2 separate regions of the Homo sapiens genome follow, and region 1 is linked to region 2. The links are contacts of gene promoters, found by promoter capture Hi-C in blood cells and fetal thymus (Javierre and others, 2016). All regions are on one chromosome and are shown on one strand. Each heading gives the region's core, a stretch centred on a gene start or on the middle of the fragment in contact. The rest is flanking DNA. Distances are from core to core; before and after follow the strand shown. Region 1 has its middle 140 kb from the start of PARAIL. Region 2 holds the start of CNBD1 (cyclic nucleotide binding domain containing 1).

Region 1 (5,392 bases), core at 506-3,005, 2.7 Mb after region 2:
TGGCTCCATTCATACATCAAATTATTTATGCTGTGACATAGGTTGTGTATTAAATTAAATCATCCCAAATGTATCTTTATCCCAATTTGGTAAAAAATGAATTTGGCTTTTTTGTGTGTCATGCAGTAATAAAGGAAATGGTCAATAATCAGAAGCTAAACTTTATAAACTCTTGTATCTATTTTTTAATAGATTGATGATGCATTTTATCTTCATTATTTCCACTCTGTAGTTTTCCTTAGAATTACTTAGTTGTTCACTTTGCACCTGACAGGGATGGTAAAGTGAACATCTTTCTAGGTAAAAAAGGGTGAATAAGATACTCTCCCTATTCTCAAGGCCACAATCTAATATGGTTAGTCTTTCTTACACAAAGCCATAAATTGATGCCCCTTCTCATTAGAAGCAACATATCTTTGTTTCTGTTTTGTTGGCTTTATAAATGTCTAAGCACAAGTGATCTATATGGCCAAACCACACTCCTTTTTATTCCGCTTTAGGTGTCCTGACCAGGACTTTTCTAGAACAATACTTGCCCTGTAGCTGCTATTCTGTAAAAACCTAGAAACTGCTTACTCCTGTTTTTTTCTCATGTTAATTGCATTTGTTTACATAAAATTTACAACAGCTATCAGGAACTGTATTTTGTTATCCTAAATTAGTGTTTCACAAACTTATTCTGGTACCTCAGCCTCCCTCAGATCCGTATAGACTCCACTTACTTTGGAACTCGATTGCTTTGTTTTTATTAGGGCAATCTTACTAAAGGAAAAGGATGCTAGGTCAACATGAAATGATACGGTAGTTAGCAAGATGATTCAAACATGTACAAAAGCTTGTTTTCCATCCAAATGTTATAGTATCTGACATTTCACTACTAGAGATTCATTCCTTTGTATTGTGTTCCTTACCATCTGCTGTAAGTGCTGGTAACATCACACTAATTTACACTGAAAGGACAAAGGGTTATGTTCTAGCAAGGACTTCCTGCTATGGATGCTTTAGTGAAGATTTTTCTTCATTATTTTTAGTAATACTATCAACCATTTATTGATTGCCTAATGCGTAATGAAGTACTACACATTTCACAGTTCTATTATTTAATATGTACAACAACTCTGTAAGAGGTGTTATTATCATCCATATTTTACAGATGAGAGGAAGTTTAGGAGAGTAGTTAGCACTGGCTCTGAGAAGAGATTGAAACAGTTAAAATTTCACATTCATTACTTACTAGCACTGTGTCCTTGGAAAACGTACAGTTTCATCACCTGTAAAACAAGGGCAATGGTATTTTCCTCCTGAGCTTGCTACAAAGGTAAACAAATGCCTGACACAGAGTGAGTCTGAAATACAGGGGCCATATAAGAATAAGCAAACAATGATCAGAGGTCAAGCAACTTGCCCAAGACACCAACAAATAAGAGCCCCATAGCCTGGACTACCTCCATGACAGTGTGATGATTTTTGCAAAAAGTAGGCATGTCTCTATACCTCTGAGTCTTTCCAAAACAATTTAGGTAAATAAATATAAAACAGGAAGACAATAGTCACTATGATAATAACAGACACTGCAAAATTGACTTATCTCCCCCAGAATGGGCCGTCTTTCCTAGCCAGCATCATTAAGGCCAGCTATGGATTCAGCAACAGCAGCTTCATTTCTCTTCCTGGCTTCATGTGGATTGGTTTTCCAGTCGATCTGTGACACTAATTCTCCTCTATTAGGAGCTCCGTGAGTCAGTGGCAATACCGAGGCTGAGTCATGTTGGGTAAGCAATGATGCAGTCCTGAGACATGAGAGATAGCAATTAAAAATGACCTTTGTTGTCTCCACACGACTGGCTCCATACTTTCACATTAGTATCAGCAAAGAAGGTATTTCCTGGCTCGTGAGTAGGAAATGTAACTGTTAACAAAGACATGATTATACAACTGAGAAGAAGAAACCGAGAGAATAAGGCTCCTACTCATGCTGTGATTGGGACTGAACATAAGTCTTCCATTTTGCTTTTTAGTTTATTCAACTTGGCACTGCAGACAACTAATGATTTCCAATTCAAACATTTTAAGTCTCTTTTTCTCTTACTGACATATTTTTTTCTCATCTAGCAATTTTTATTGCCCCCAGACCTAGTCTTTTGTGTCCGGTATTTTGCAAGAACTATCAGAATAATCAAACATAAACTTTAAGAAAAAAGTTGCTTTCTTCTACTCTCTCCTAATACCTCCTGCAGGGATATAAGAGATTGTCTACTTCTTCATTATTTTAACAAGGCTTCTTTTCCTTATAACACTAAGGTTGTATAACGATCTTCCCTAATTTTATTCCTTGGGGCTGAACAAGTCTGATAACTCCATTTCCAAAGTAAGAAAAGGAAGCCAAAATCATCAACCAGCTTTCTTTTTACCGAATGTTCTGTTTTTTTAAAGAAGAAAACCTTTCCTTTGGTAGAAAATGCCACTTGATTATGACAAACACTCGTGAAACTTCTGTCTTCTTGAAAATAGCGAATATCTTAAAATTCACAAAATTTTTCACAGATTAGAAGAAATTAGTTGGAATAGGTGTGCTCTTAAAGGCCAAACTACCTGAGCTCCGGCTCTGCTTTTCCCGCTGTCTCTCCAGCAGCATCATGTGGCGGTCCTGCCAAAAACTCACATTCAGCTGGTTCAAAGCTTAAAGCTCTACCCTATCCTCCAACTTTCCTCTCATAGAAAAGGGCGCCCCCAGCTTGCCTTGCAGATGTCTTCAGGTTCTCCCTCCCCTCACCACAGATACCCAGTTCATCACCAAGTGCTGTCAGCTCTCCATGTCAGCAGCTCTTGTTTCTGTCTTCTCTTTCTCATTGTCACTACTTGGCCCTCTCAAATGACCTATTGCAGGAACCTCATCAATGGTCTTCTTGCCTCCTCTAATATCCTTCACAGAGTCACCAACATTATCTTTCCAAAACAAAGATCAGTTTCCAGCTGCCTACAGAATGTTATCAAGACATAACCTGATAGCCACCTTCCTTCCTGATTCCCTCTCATTACATCCTCCCCACATTTTGGATGCTCTAGCCACACTGGAAAACTCACTGTTGCCCAAACATGCCCATCTCATTGCTCAGAGCACTTCTTCCTTCTCAATGCTTCCCCAACTTTACTTTTTCAAAGACGGAGTCTTGCTATATTGCCCAACTGGTGTGCACTAGCTATTCACAAGCACACTCATAGTGCACTACAGCCTCAAATTCCTGAGCTCAAGCAGTCCTCCTGCCTCAACCTGGACTACAGGTGCACACCACTGCGCCTGGCTCCGTCCCCTAACTTTTTCAAAGTAATGTTACTCTTTCTCTTCTTTGTGCATGATGTACACATTACATTTCATCATAGCGACCAGTGTGATCTTTTTTACAAAACCATCAAATAATATATTTTCTCTGCTTAAATTTTGTGAGCTTCCTCTAAATTCAGAATGATAGATTAGGTACTTCTAAGTGTATTATACAAGGCTCTGCATTTTTCTGGCTCCTGCCTTCATCTCTAGATCTCACTTGTACCACTCTTCTTCTCGCTCTCTATGTTCCTGTCATACAATCTCATTTTTATTCTGTAAAACTCCAATGTCATCCTCACCCTATGGTCTTTGCCCTACCTGCTCTGCCCTACTCCCTCTGCCTGGATTATTCTTCCCTCACAAACTAACATGACTGACTTGTTCAGGCCCTCAGAAGAGCACTCCACTGAAAATAGCCAACACCAACTCACTGCCAAAAAACTTCCTAAATTTTTTTCTAGCACCCGTCACTATCAACATCTCAAATTATTTTATGTGTATATTTCCTTTATGTTCTCATCTGTCTCCTTCCAACAACAGGTAAGCCCCTTGAGGACAGGTTGCTTATGGCTTTGTCCATCACTGAATCCTCAGCACCTAATACAGACCATGACACATTTGATGAGTGTATATTAAAATAATTAAATGGAAAATACAGCACTTGTCATGTATTATCTCGTTTTCAGTAAGTTGTGTACATGTCTTTCTCCCTAGACTGTAATCGTCTTGAAACCAGGGACTATGTACTAATTATATGTATATTCCCCCACAGCAATATCCCAAATTGTCATAGTAGGTATTCAGTAAGTTTTCTGGCTGGAATTGAGTTGAGTAACTCTGTCCTTCACTGAGCTATGCTTATCTCTCCAAATTTAAAGAGCATTTGATCTAGTAAGTTTGACCCCAGCCTCAGCTCTGTCAAATAAGAGCTGTGTGACCATAGTCAAGTAGCTAAACTTCTCTGACTCTCTCTGATTGCATATATGAAAAACAGAAATAATAAAATTTTCTCTGCCTAATTCCAGGGTAGTTGTGAGGATTAAATTAAATCACATAAGCCCTTTCTTCTCATTAAACTGCAAACAGTTCAAGGTCTGAGATACCAGTTGTTTCTTTTTTGCCTAATGTATAGAGAATAGCCTCATGCTGTGTGCACATAGGTCAATCAATAATAGCCATCATTTATCGTGTAGCTACTATGTGACAGACACTGTAATAAGCACCTTTTATAGGACACATCTTATTTAATGTAATCCTTAAAACCATCATGTAAGAATATATATTGGTATCCCCATTTATAGATGAGAAAAATGGCACCTACAGAAGGTAAGAAATGTTCACAAAGCCATACACTTAGTCACTGGCAATGCTGGGATTTGATAGCACATCTGTGTGAACAAGTAAGTGTAACTGCTGATACTTATCATTTGTTCAAACTACGCAATATCCAGACATTTCTTCAGAGTTCCTCAACTGCTTTGGTGTTTACTTGAAGCTAAGAAAATCCTTTCAGACTTTTTCTTTCAAGTCCTCCCACCCACGATACTAGCACAACTAAGGAACAAACTCCTGGCCTGAATTTGGCCATGTTCTCTCAGAACATTAAGTCTTGATAAGGATGACAATGGAAAGAGGAAAGAAAGAGAGTTCATTCTTACCAGCAATGGTTCTTGTGCAACATTACCCTGTAGTTTTCTCCAATCAAAAACTTCTGGCACTGCCTTTTCTCTTCTAAACCTGGTTCTCCAATCCTGTCTTCCTTACAGTCAGTTCCCAACATCCTTTCAATAAATTGTTTTTGTTATTAAATTGGCAAGTTTCTGTTGCTAGTCTAAACAGAACCTCAACTGATACAATATGCAAAAAGAAAAATAATATGAACCCATAATGAATTCTCAAAACATATTTAATGAAGAAATAATCAATATGCTAATGAATGAATAATCCCTACTCATATGTAAGGGTGTAAAATGTTTAATAGGCTAAGTACTACCTGAAAATACATTACAAAAAAAAGTCACAAGATAGTATATGATTAATCGCCAAATTAATAGCCCAGGCTGTACA
Region 2 (5,431 bases), core at 2,212-4,711:
GTGAAATGACTTGGGTATAACATATGTTATACTTGTGTATCTTCAGACCAACAGGGACATTGTTTTGGAAAATCTTTTGAGATCTCTTAATAAAATTATGCCAGTTATCTTAATTTGACATATCTTTTCTAATAAATAGAGTTAAAAATATAATACCAGAATTAAACACTCAAAATCAAAATAGGGCATATTTGATATATTAAATATGTTAATAGTGTCTAGAAATGTTAATAGACACTAGAATAGTATCTAGAAATAGTGTCATGGTAAATTTCGTTATTATTATTATTGGTTTTTGCAATACAGAATGAATACTTAAGGTACATCCTGAAAAATGAACCTGTAATATACTACTGGTGACTGTGTAGCAGGAATAAATGGAACTCATATTAAATATACTTTTAAAAAAATATTTAAAGTATTAAAAATATTTATGCTCTGGTTTCTCTTCAGAATGACTTTATCTTTTTGTCTTTTACTAAAGTATTAAAAATATTTAATCCATATGAGTTTTTCAAAGTTTACTTCAGCAATAGTAATATTACTAATAAAAATGGAGTTATTACTATAGGTACTGTGCTAGGACCTTTTTTCATTATTTAATATTCATAATATTTGTATGAGGTATTATCATTACCCCTGCATAGATCAGGATATTGAGGCCAAGGTGGATTAAGTGACTTCTCCAAGATAATTTTGTAAGTAAGTGGTTGGGAAACAATTAGACTTTACTGTCCAGGCATTGGTAAACAATGTAATACAGCTATCTCTCAAAGACAAATTGTGTGATTATGTTATTATTCTTTGAATGAATTTCAAAAGAATTCAGAATACATTGAAAAGCCTAGCAAAAAACATTTAGGAGAGCTGAATTTGTGATTTGATGGATTTTCTCTGGACATATATCAGCAGGTACTAGCAGATGCTCACACGCAATTATGAATATTACAGAGACTTAGATAAAATTCAGTAAGCTATTTTAGTTGTTTATTTTGCTATTTACTCCTTAATGTTCTTGTTTACTTGCATTGTCACTTCTCATTTTTTCTTTAAAATTATTTTCAAGCAAGGTCCAGGTTGATATGAACTACGATATTATATGGCATTCAGTGTGTAAAGTTTATTACATATGAAATACAGAAAAGAGAAAGGTGAAAATATGGAAAAGCAGGAAGATAACTAGAAAATAAATAAAAATAAGAACTGCTAACTTGGAATCAGAGAGGAAATCGGTCATCACAATTTTAGGGCCTTAGGAAACTTCCTCTCTTACATTTGTTTGATTAGAACTGTTCGTCAGAGAAAAAAAGCATTTTATATAGTCCCTTCTGCTTAACATCCATGAAAAATTCACGTCTTCATTTCTTTGGGTTTTAAATGTGCGACTAGGAAGAGAATGGATCTAGAAAACCTGTGGAATGATGGCAGTAGGGATTACCAACAAGGGGACAGTTGGAATGGCAAGGAACCATTCTGAAGTGGGAGCTAGGCAGGTGGCTAGTGTGGAAGGAATGCAAGATGAAGAATAGTGATGTGGCCGGGTGTGGTGGTTCATGCCTGTAATCCTAGCACTTTGGGAGACCAAGGCAGGCAGATCACCAGAGGTCGGGAGTTCAAGATCAGCCTGGCTAACATGGTGAAACCGTGTCTCTACTAAATATACAAAATCAGCTGGGCGTGGTGGCACCTGCCTGTAATCCCAGCTACCCGGGAGGCTGAGGCAGGAGAATCACTTGAACCCGGGAGGTGGAGGTTGGAATGAGTCAGAATTGAGCCACTGCACTCCAGCCTGGGTGACAGAGTGAGACTTGGTCTCCAGAAAAAAAAAAAACAATAGTGATGAGACTCAACAACAAAATTGAGTCTATGGTGAGTTTGGAGTTTGTAAAACTGGAAATAGGAAAATACATTCAATTGAAAAGTTATAACCTGAGTAAATTTATTGTGCAGATATAATTTAATAGAAACTGTTGCAAAATAAATTTGTTACTTTTGTAACATAATTAATGTTTTCTATTCTAGTTATTAATGTTATCTAGATGAAGTTGCTCCAGAAATGGTTGGTTTACACTCTGCTAGTCCAGTTCAGGTATCAGACAGCCACAGTCCTTTTGTATATTACCTGATGAAATGGGGGAGTTCCCTGATTCCCCTCACAGAATGTGTGACAGGGCTGTGGTTTGCCTGCTTGGTTGGTCATCGCTGCTGCTCAAACCCTGTGGGGAGGGGGAGCACACAGACGGACAGGTGCAGGAGCCCAAGTGGGCATTGTGTTGCAGTGTGCCCTTGTAGCCCTACCCTCCATGGATGGCTTGATGTTAACAAGCTCAATGGACCCTCTGCCTTTTCACAAGGGTAGAGGGCCAGTGTGATAGCTTTCTGTATCCTGAATTCTTGCCCAGCATCCCAGAAGTACTGGGTCACACATGGGCTTGAAGGAAGAACTCAGGGTTTTATTGAGTGGTGGAGGTGGCTCTCAGCAGGATGGATGGGGAGCTGGAAGGGGGATGGAGTGGGAAAATGATCTTCCCCTGGAGTTTGGCCGTACAGTGGCTGAACTCCTCTCAGTGTTCAGATGTTCCTCCTTTTCTCACTTTCTCTGCCTGTCATTCTGCCATTCATCTATTTGTCTCATCTCTTCGTCTGCTTCTGGAGCCTGGGATTCAGGGTTTATATGGGTACAGGATAGGGTGTGTTGCAGGCCAAAAGGCAACTTTTTAGGTGCAAAAACAGGAATGCCTGTCCCAATCTAGGGCCGCAGGTCTCCAGGCTTGAGGGTGGGGCCTTTACTGGGGAACTGCCCTCTTCTACCCAGTGTTTCCCTGTCTCCTGTCCGTATCACTCTAACAGTTATGATACCAGGACCCTATTTCTAAAGGCCTTGGAAGATAATACACAGCATCAAAAGATACATTAGTTAGGATTGTAAACCCTAGCCATTGTAACTATCCTTAATTATTGTGAAGCAGCAGAAAATAACAAAAAAACATGTTCCACACTCTAGCAGAATATAGTTAAATGTAAGCTGGGGTGGGTTTATTGGTGTATGATAATTAGAAGGGATGGTTTACCCTATAAATGTGGCCATGAAGAACAGTATAAATATGCTATCTCTGTTACTGCTGGTACAGAAAGGGCCTGTGATACCCAGTGTAAACATTTGGTAGGCAGGAAAAGGGCTCTGGACTATGGAAGACCAAGGAAGTGAATACTTTCATTTCACCTAGACTCATGAGTGCTGTTGATTCTGCTGTATCAGCCTTGTGGGCTACAGTTTCCTTCTTCATTATTGCTACTCTCTATAGCTCATAAAGTCCTCCTTATGATTTCCACTGGACTAAAATGTAGCATAGTTCTTCCTGGTCTAGATGACACTCTTGGAAATGCACAAACAATGGATAAGAACTATGAACAAGAAGATTCCGTAGGATTCAACCTATCAGAGAGGACCTTGAAGTTCTGCTTTATGAGCCTGCAGGCAAAGAGTGATCATTTGCCTCTCAAGCAGCCTCTGGTCATCTATCTGCCTTTGAGCCATCAAGATGCCGATGTCTTCTCTTCCAGCAGCTATTTTGTCTCACATGACAGCTATTAACAATGTGCCTCCTCCTCCACTTCACAGTATACCAAGTGAGTGGGAAATACTTTGATGCTCTTATTCACCTACCATTGTTTTCAGCGGTTCTTACCCCAGCTATGAAAATTGGGGGTATTTCAGGGTTGATAGGGACATTGGGAATCTTATTGACAGTGCTGAAGAATGGAAAGAACATAGATGTGTAAATCCTGCTTGGTCTACTTGAAGTCATTTCAGTACTCTAGGTCTTAAGTATTTTTTCTCTGTAAAATGAGGATCTTTACGAACTCTTAGAGCTTCAGATACATTGAAATATTTCTAAAGATGAAAGAAAACAAAGATTTAGAGAGGCCACATGTTCCACCAGCTATCAGGTTCCTTTTTCTAGCAGATCTTCTACTCCCTACCAAGAGTTGGTCCTACTACGCTTAATGGGATAATTAATACTTAATATTCTCTAGGAGAATTCTCATTTCAATTTGACAAGGAAAAAAAGATAATTCCTACTATTCTGACTGTGAAATTTATTCCTATTTAACTTTTTTATTTTCTAGTCTTACTTATAAGAATTAAGTATAGAACTAGATATTTCAAAGTTTATATAATTGACAGTATTTTCTCATTTTATGTAATTAGTCTAAACCTATAACGTTTTCTTAAGATTGTAAACACTTCTCATGGCCATCGAATTTATAAGATCTATTATTTGAACACCATCATTCTGACTAGCAATATGTATGAGTTCCAGTGTTAGTTAAGATTTTTAAAAAATATCTGGATAACAAAGGTAATACTTGTGATCCTTTTCAACTTCAATAAAGCATTAACTCTTATTTTATTATTCATTGGGCAGATTTATAGTATTGATTTGAAGAAGCTAAGCCATCCATCCTTTTCCCTTCCTGTGAAAGTTAATTTCTCCAAATACATTTTAAAAAATTAATGCTCATAGTCTCCAGGTTAAAAGGTATAACAGGTGGCAGTTGATACTCCTTGAAGGGGTACACTGATGTCTTGAATAGTGTTAGACAAAATCCTTATGTTAAACAAAATTAATTCCATTTGTATTATAGTGAAAATAATCTTGCATCTGGTCAAAGTTTTCTATTTCTACTTGAGTGGAAATAAGAATTAAGTGCAATTTTGCTGAAGAAACACAGCTTCTACTATTCATGTTTTATTTGTGAAAAAGAAAATAAAAGTCACCATAAAATAATATTTTTAAAAAGCCCAGGAAACTCGGTAGCTGGGAGTTAAAAGATCAAATTAATTTAGAATCAATGAGATGAGATTTGTGCTACCCTCTGTAGTGCCTCCCAAGGACACTTAACTTCTGTGAAGTGATTAAAAGACGAAAAATCAGCAGCAATTTAGATCTCAGAACTGAATAGAGCATAATGGAAAGCGGTGGAGCTCCCAGTGTTCCTTTAGAGGTTCGCACTTGATGTTTCTATGTCTGCAACTTCTCTTTGAGGACGTGCCCTGCTTGCCTTAATAACTGTGTCTTTTTGCTAACTGTAGCAAGACAATAATTTTCCTTAGCAAGCACTGATTGTCTCACTGCTGAAACAATGATCTCATGGAAGCCAATGTGTAATGAATGCTTTCAATTTATGAAATGACTGAACCTGAATTACAAAGGATATATAAATGAGTTTTAAATGCAGTGGGCATAAATAGGAATGCACATTTACATACCTAAAAAGAAAATCCAGCCATTGTATACATCCTTGATACTTTGTATTTGTTGAGTTAGGTTGGATTTAGTGACTCATATTCACCTTCTCTGTAAGTATTTATTTATTTATTTATTCATTTTTATTTATTTTTGAGATGAAGTCTTGCTCTGTTGCC

Evidence for each region. The method cuts DNA at HindIII sites, captures the fragments that hold promoters and counts their contacts. A CHiCAGO score of 5 or more calls a contact.
Region 1: a fragment that was not itself captured here is called in contact with the fragment with the promoter of CNBD1 in region 2 in 1 of 17 cell types (M2 macrophages); the score reaches 6.9 in M2 macrophages.

Annotation. Positions count from the first base shown.
Region 1 is chr8:89,610,200-89,615,591 of GRCh38, forward strand. No RefSeq gene overlaps it. Among named protein-coding and RNA genes, the nearest start is that of PARAIL, 140 kb to the right of the region's middle. RefSeq lists an enhancer at 1,408-2,607. The HindIII fragment of the contact is 1,844 bases long and covers 834-2,677 here.
Region 2 is chr8:86,862,954-86,868,384 of GRCh38, forward strand. CNBD1 (cyclic nucleotide binding domain containing 1) reads left to right here and starts at 3,462. Exons shown (of 11, transcript NM_173538.3): 1 at 3,462-3,630. The coding sequence starts at 3,543. The HindIII fragment of the contact is 11,844 bases long and covers 1-5,431 here.